2 separate regions of the Homo sapiens genome follow, and region 2 is linked to region 1. Evidence: promoter capture Hi-C in 16 types of primary human blood cells and fetal thymus (Javierre and others, 2016). All regions are on one chromosome and are shown on one strand. The core of a region is centred on a gene start or on the middle of the fragment in contact, and the rest is flanking DNA. Distances in the headings are between cores, read along the strand shown. Region 1 overlaps TK1 (thymidine kinase 1). Region 2 holds the start of C17orf99 (chromosome 17 open reading frame 99).

The links. The method cuts DNA at HindIII sites, captures the fragments that hold promoters and counts their contacts. A CHiCAGO score of 5 or more calls a contact.
Region 2: a contact is called between the fragment with the promoter of C17orf99 here and a fragment that was not itself captured in region 1, in 1 of 17 cell types (total B cells). The highest score is 5.8, in total B cells.

Annotation. Positions count from the first base shown.
Region 1 is chr17:78,178,101-78,181,322 of GRCh38, forward strand. All of the region lies in intron 4 of TK1 (thymidine kinase 1), which reads right to left. Among named protein-coding and RNA genes, the nearest start is that of TK1, 7.3 kb to the right of the region's middle. The HindIII fragment of the contact is 1,624 bases long and covers 1,108-2,731 here.
Region 2 is chr17:78,145,083-78,148,413 of GRCh38, forward strand. C17orf99 (chromosome 17 open reading frame 99) reads left to right here and starts at 1,303. Exons shown (of 5, transcript NM_001163075.2): 1 at 1,303-1,362; 2 at 1,797-1,829. The coding sequence starts at 1,326. RefSeq lists an enhancer at 2,326-2,545. The HindIII fragment of the contact is 9,063 bases long and covers 1-3,331 here.

The sequences.
Region 1 (3,222 bases), core at 670-3,169:
CCTCAAGTGATCCGCCCGCCTAGGCCTTCCAAAGTGCTGGGATTACAGGTGTGAGCCACCGTGCCCAGCCAGAAAAAAAGTTTAAAAAAATAAATCAGAGCTCCTACTATTGCCAAGCGACCCTGCAAGCCCACCACACACTGTGCAGCTGTTGATGCAAGGGTGCCCACCCACCACCAGCATCTGAAGCACAGCACCCCCAGCTAGGAGCTTCAGGTTTTCCAGAGATTTCCAGGTGAGTCTCTCTTGGATGCCAACAGTTTCTACAGAGCAGTGTGAGCACCTGTGTGTCTCGCCCGGGGTACAAAGAAGCACAGAAGCTTCTGACCCAGGGCCTTCCTCAGGATGGCACGGTGGCTACTCTGTGAAAGGCTTTCCCTGCTGACCCAGAAAACGGGAACAAGGCAGGTTCGGCTGGGCTTCATCCACTGTCCACGTAGACAATGAAGGAGCGAAGGACAGTCCTTCTGCTGGGTCCCATGCTAGGAACCCCTCTCCTCGATCTAGAACTGCTTGCAATGGGAAGACCCTGAACTTCTTTTGTTTTGTTTTGTTTTGAGACTGAGTTTTGCTCTTGTTGTTGCCCAGGCTTGGAGTGCAATGGGGCGATCTTGGCTCACTGCAACCTTCGCCTACCGGGTTCAAGCGATTCTCCTGCCTCAGCCTCCCAAGTAGCTGGGATTACAGGCATGCGCCACCACGCCTGGCTAATTTTTGTATTTTTAGTAGAGACGGAGTTTCTCCATGTTGGTCAGGCTGGTGACCCGGAACTTCTTGAAGAGAACAAGGGCACACAGAGGCCAGGGCAGAATGCTGATGTCTGGGTAGGGTGTAATAAATACTCACTGAATGAACTCAAGTTTTACTTGCTGGCCAGGGAGGAAGTAGACCGAGAAATCCCTCCTATAGGCTGAACAGGGGACAGGACTTCATACGCTGGCTCCTGACTCAGGGCATTTGGATGTCGAGGAAGGAGAAGGGAAAGGTTTCTGCCTCGGGGGTCTGGGTCAGCCTCTGTCAACAAGGTTTACGCAGAGCCAGGAGAACAGAGCTATTGAACAACTCACAGCGGCAGGTCTGAAGGAGGGAGAGCCTTGCCAAAGCTGAAGCTTCCTTGTTCTGAGAGGGCCATGTCCCCAAAGCTGATGCAAAATCCCTGGATGCATTCTGAGGCCACAGTTTGGGAGCAAAAGAGAACAGCTGCAGCCCTATTCCCAGCCTGGGCTCACTTTCTCGCCAGGAGTCCCTCAAGCACGGGGCAGCAACAACGACGTCTCCACGTACGCAGAGGCATGGGGGTGCTCAGGGGCGCACCTCTGAAGGTCAGAAACGGAATGGCCATACCCAAGCGGGGAGGAGATGCCAGCTGCCGGGTGGTCGGGAACCCAGAGCGGACACTGGCAGCCTCAACTCCACAGGGCAGATGCCCCGCACAGGGGAAGGGACCCGTCAGCCTCCCCACGGGAATGGAATTTGCAGCTGTGACTCATACAGAATGTTGGGCAAGAACAGAACCAGGAAGGCAGGACTGGCCTTTTGAGGGGACAGGCCCTGTGACGTCCGGGCAGGGTATTCAGGCCAGAGCGGCCTGGCTCTGTGCTGGGAGGCAGGGCGGGTAGAGACCTCGAAGCACTCACCAAACCAACTCATTTATTCTTCCTCCAGGGTATAGAACTAGACTAAGTGTGGCCAGGCGTGGTGGCTCACGCCTGTAATCCCAGCACTTTGGGAGGCTGAGGCAGGCAGATCACCTGAGGTTAGGAGTTCCAGACCAGCCCGGTCAACATGATGAAACCCCGTCTCTACTAAAAATACAAAAGGTTAGCTGGGCATGGTGGCAGAAGCCTGTAATCCCAGCTACTCAGGAGGCTGAGGCGGGAGAATCACTTGAACCTGGGAGATGGAGGTTATAGTGAGCCGAGACTGCGCCACTGCACTCCAGCCTGGGCCACAGAGCAAGACTGTTTTTAAAAACAAACAAAAAACGAACTGGACTAAGTATACTAAACGTATAGGTGGCCCTGTGCCCAGGTTCTAGTCTTTGAAAGATCAGCAGAAGTGACGTTTGCAGCTTCTGGTCAGGCCCATGAAAACCTCACACCCAGGGGCTCCGCCACGTCTCTTCCCCTCCGTGTCTGTATACAGCCAGCCAGGGCGACCTAAGCCGCCTCGTGGGCGGCCTCCCCATCAACCGGCCTGGAACCACGTAGGGGGTCTGTGAGCGAGAAATAAATTCCTGTTATGTTTATATCAAACCACCACATTGTGTACTTCGAGGCAACCCTAAAAGTACCTAAGAGGTCAAGTCTGCTAAACCCCTTGGAGAGAGTTTCAGTTTCATTCTTTGTGATAAACTAACAAAAATAAAATCTCCAAAGCAGAGGAAAGAAAACTAAGATAACAGAAAATAACCCAGAAACTCAACCACAGAATATGTTCCTGAGGAAATAGAAAAATCTGGAAAAGTCTAAGAAAAGATTTTCAGGAACATAATGGAAGGAACAGCATAAATTTAAAAATAACCCAACAGTAACTTGTCAAACAAAACGGAGCATGATGAATTAGAGCAGCAGATGTAAAAATAGTCACTGAAACAAAACACACTCTGGAAGATGGAACCCAGAACACCTCAGAGATGGATGAGGAGAGAAATACCTGAAGTGATAATGGCTTCATTCCTTCCCCAGAAATGAAAAGGCACACCAGCTATAAAGCAGGATAAATGAAACAAAGCTTCCCCTACACACATTGTGCTGAGAGAGAACAGATAGAATACCTGACCAGAGGTAACATTAGAGAGATGGCGGCCTTCCTCTGAGCAAAAACACAATGACCAGCGCTGCTACTTTTCAAAGCAACAAGATCAAGACCAGGCGTGGTGGCTCACGCCTGTAATCCCAGCACTTTGGGAGCTGAGGCATGCGGATCACCTGAGGTCAGGAGTTCCAGACCAGCTGGCCAACATGGTGAAACCCCATCTCTATTAAAAATACATAAATGAGCTACGCATGGTGGCACGCACCTGTGATCCCAGCTACCCGGAAGGATGAGGCAGAACTGCTTGAACCCAAAAGGCGGAGGTTGCTGTGAGCTAAGATCACGTCACTCCACTCCAGCCAGGGCAACAGAGCAAGACTCCATCTCAAAAAAAATAAAAATTAAAAAGGCCGGGCACGGCGGCTCATGCCTGTAATTCCAACACTTTGGGAAGCCAAGGCGGGT
Region 2 (3,331 bases), core at 53-2,552, 34 kb before region 1:
TCCCCACACAAAGTGTGGGAAACTGAGCCGGGCCAGAAAGTGACAGGCTGGTCCAGCAGCCCCAGGCTGAGCTTGGGCACAAAGCCGGGTGCAGTGGCCCACAGCGGAGCTGGCAGGGCCCCAGCCTCAATCCCTTGCGCCCTTACATCTCTCTGTGTTCCGGGGAATGCCTGGCCCCAGCCCTGGCCTCGGGGCTCTGGGAGGCCCTGCTCACCCCCACCCTCCCTGCATGTGCAGGAGGCTCTGTGGCTGAACTCTGCACACACACTGCCTGCGATGCAGCTGGGTCTGCTGCTGGCCAAGGCCAGCACTGGGGCCAGTTCCCTGGGGAATGACCATCCATGTGACCTCCCACCACCCTCAGTGGGGCCTGAGGGACTTCTGAAGGGCGGTGCTTGGGCACACCACGCTCCGGGACCCAGGACTCCAGGACCCATCACACTCCAGGACCAGGGGCCTCGTCGGTCTGGGGTTTCATTCTGGGGCTGGGTGCAGCCTTGGCCTCCCGGCTGTGAACCATCATGGGTGGGGCTGCCTTTTCTCAGCCCAGCAGGTCCCCAGCTGCTTGGAAAGGCCCCAGTGATTACATGAGGGTCACCTGGGTCATGTAGGACGGGCTCCTCCTCTCAAAATGAGAAGACTCACAGCCTTCATTCCCCTTGCCGCGTAGCATGGTGCTCACGGGCTCCAGAAGTTACAGCGTGGACATCTTTTTTTTTTTTTTTTTTTTTGAGATGGAATCTCACTCTGTTGCCCAGGCTGGAGTGCAGTAGCGTGATCTTGGCTCACTGCAACCTCCGCCTCCTGGGTTCAAGCAATTCTCCTGCCTCAGTCTCCCGAGTAGCTGGGATTACAGGCGCACGCCACCACGCCCGGCTGATTTTTAGTAGAGATGGAGTTTCGCCATGTTGGCCAGGCTGGTCTCGAACTCCTGACCTCAGGTGATCCGCCCATCCAGGCCTCCCAAAGTGCTGGGATTACAGGTGTGAGCCACTGTGCCCCGCGGAGCATGGACACCTTCTGCCCACCACGTGAGCCCGGGATCCTGCGGCTCAGAGGTGACTGCTGAGTCTAAGCCCTGGTCTGGCTTCAAGGTCCAAACTCCTTCCACTTCTCTGGGGATTGAGGGGGAGTTTGCTGTACCGGGCCTGCCGGGGCTCTCTGGGCCCCGCCCTGGTAGCTGAGGCCCTGGGGTGCTGCGGCCTCCAGGTTATCTCCCCACTGCAGGCACCCACCCAGGGAGCATCCCAGGGGCCTCAGGGTGGGGGAGGCCAGGAACTAGGAGGTTCTCACTGCCCGAGCAGAGGCCCTACACCCACCGAGGCATGGGGCTCCCTGGGCTGTTCTGCTTGGCCGTGCTGGGTGAGTCCACCAGGGACGTGATGGTGGGGCTGCTGCTGGGGCCTTGAGGTCTTGGGCTCAGGTGGGGGTACTGGGAGCACAGGAGAGATGAGGCCTGAAGGAAGGGCACCTCTGGAAACATGGACAGAGAGGGAAAGATCTGGGCTTGAGTCTCGGACCAGCCCCTAAACTTGCTGTATATGTGGTCCAGGGATTTCTGCACCATTCTGGGCTCACTACTTACCCATCTGCGAAATGGGCGGATGAGAGGCGATGTTGTGGGGGGAGGGGCGCAAAAGAGCTTTTGTGAGTGATGGTGCCAGCTGAGTCCTGGGGCCTCACTACCAAGAATCAGCCTGCTCCTCCCTCCTGGCTTCAGCAGGTGGGTCTCGAGGCTGTCTCTGGTCTCCCCTCCACACCAGGCCCTCTCCTTATCGCCCTTACCTCTCTTACAGCTGCCAGCAGCTTCTCCAAGGCACGGGAGGAAGGTAAGTGGCATAGCCTGCTGCAGGGAGAAGTCCCCCAGCTGGGACCCTGGTGTCAGAACCCCCATGGTGGAGGGCGCCTCGGCTGGGAAGGGAGTTACTAGTGGGGAGGTGTGTGCTGGAGGATGGCTGGACAGTTCTGGAACACTCTCTTCACCCTGCAGGGCCCTAGGAGTGATGGAGATGGGCAGGCCAAGCAGGCCAGTGTGGGGACCTCCGGGGCACACAGGCAGGGAAGTTGCTCAGCTTCCAGCCTTTGGCTGGGCTGTTTGGAGGGAAGATTCCCTGGGCAGGTGCATCCTCATCACTCTGCCCCAGGTCCCTGATCGGGAGCAGAAGCCCCCCCTGAGACCCTCACAGCTCTGCCCGGTGGGCGAGGCCCCGTGGAGGGCTGGGGAATTCTGGTGGGGCCTGGGAGGTTGGGATTCTCTGACCAGGAGGAGGGCCGTGAGAGGATGGTGAAGTTAAGGCTCCCCCAGGGGCCTGACATACACGAGGCTGCCTTCCTTATAGAGGCAGGTGGGGAGTGGAGAGTGTCTGGGACCCAGCTGGGTACAGGACCAGGGAGGAGGGGACGCTGGGGAAGGTCCCTGACAGCCCCTAGCCTGGCCTGCTTCCTCATCTTTGCCTGCTCCATCTTTCTGCCTGCACTTTCTTGCCCCATCCTTCCCTCCCCTCCCCTCATGTCCATTAAGGTGAGGATGGACAGTCACCTCCCTATATTGTCCCAACTAACCCTTGCCCCTTGTTGCTAGGCCATCAGGTTACAGAGCAGGGCCTTCCCCCTCTATTTTGCTAAAGGGCAGGTACAGGGTAATGATGACGCCATTCTCACTTGAATGAGGCCCAGGTTGAACCATTATTTCCTCATTTGCTTTAAAAACGGATACATTGTTGGTGTGGCTGCTAAAAAGAGAGCAGGCAGCTGGGGCTCCGGGAAGTACCTGTGCAGGGCAGTTCCGCCTCCCCCTCTTGGCTGGCTCCCGACTTCTCTGATTCTTGCCAACCAAGTCCTGCTAACTAAACTCCTAAGAGACTGACTGATAAATCATTTATTCATTCAACAAATACTTGAGCACCTGTTTGGTTGCAGGCACAATTCCAGGCCCTGAGAATGTGGCAAGGCACTGAAACAAACCCCTCCTGTATCTTACATTCTAGTGGGGGTTGGGGGGACAGATGATAATAAAAATAAGAACATTCAGTGGCTTATGCCTGTTATCCCGCACTTTGGGAGGCTGTAGCCAAAGGATCAGTTGAGCCCAGGAGTTCAAGACCAGCCTGACCGACACAGTGAGACCCCCATCTCTTAAAAAAAAAAAAAGAAAATGGCTCGATCTCAGCTTACTGCAACCTCTGCCTCCTGGGGTCAAGGGATTCTTCCACCCAGCCTCCTGAGTAGCTGAGATTACAGATATGCACCACCATGCCCAGCTGATTTTTTTGTATAAAGAAAATATTTTTTTAAATTAGCTGGGCATGGTGGGCGGTGCACCTGTTGTCCC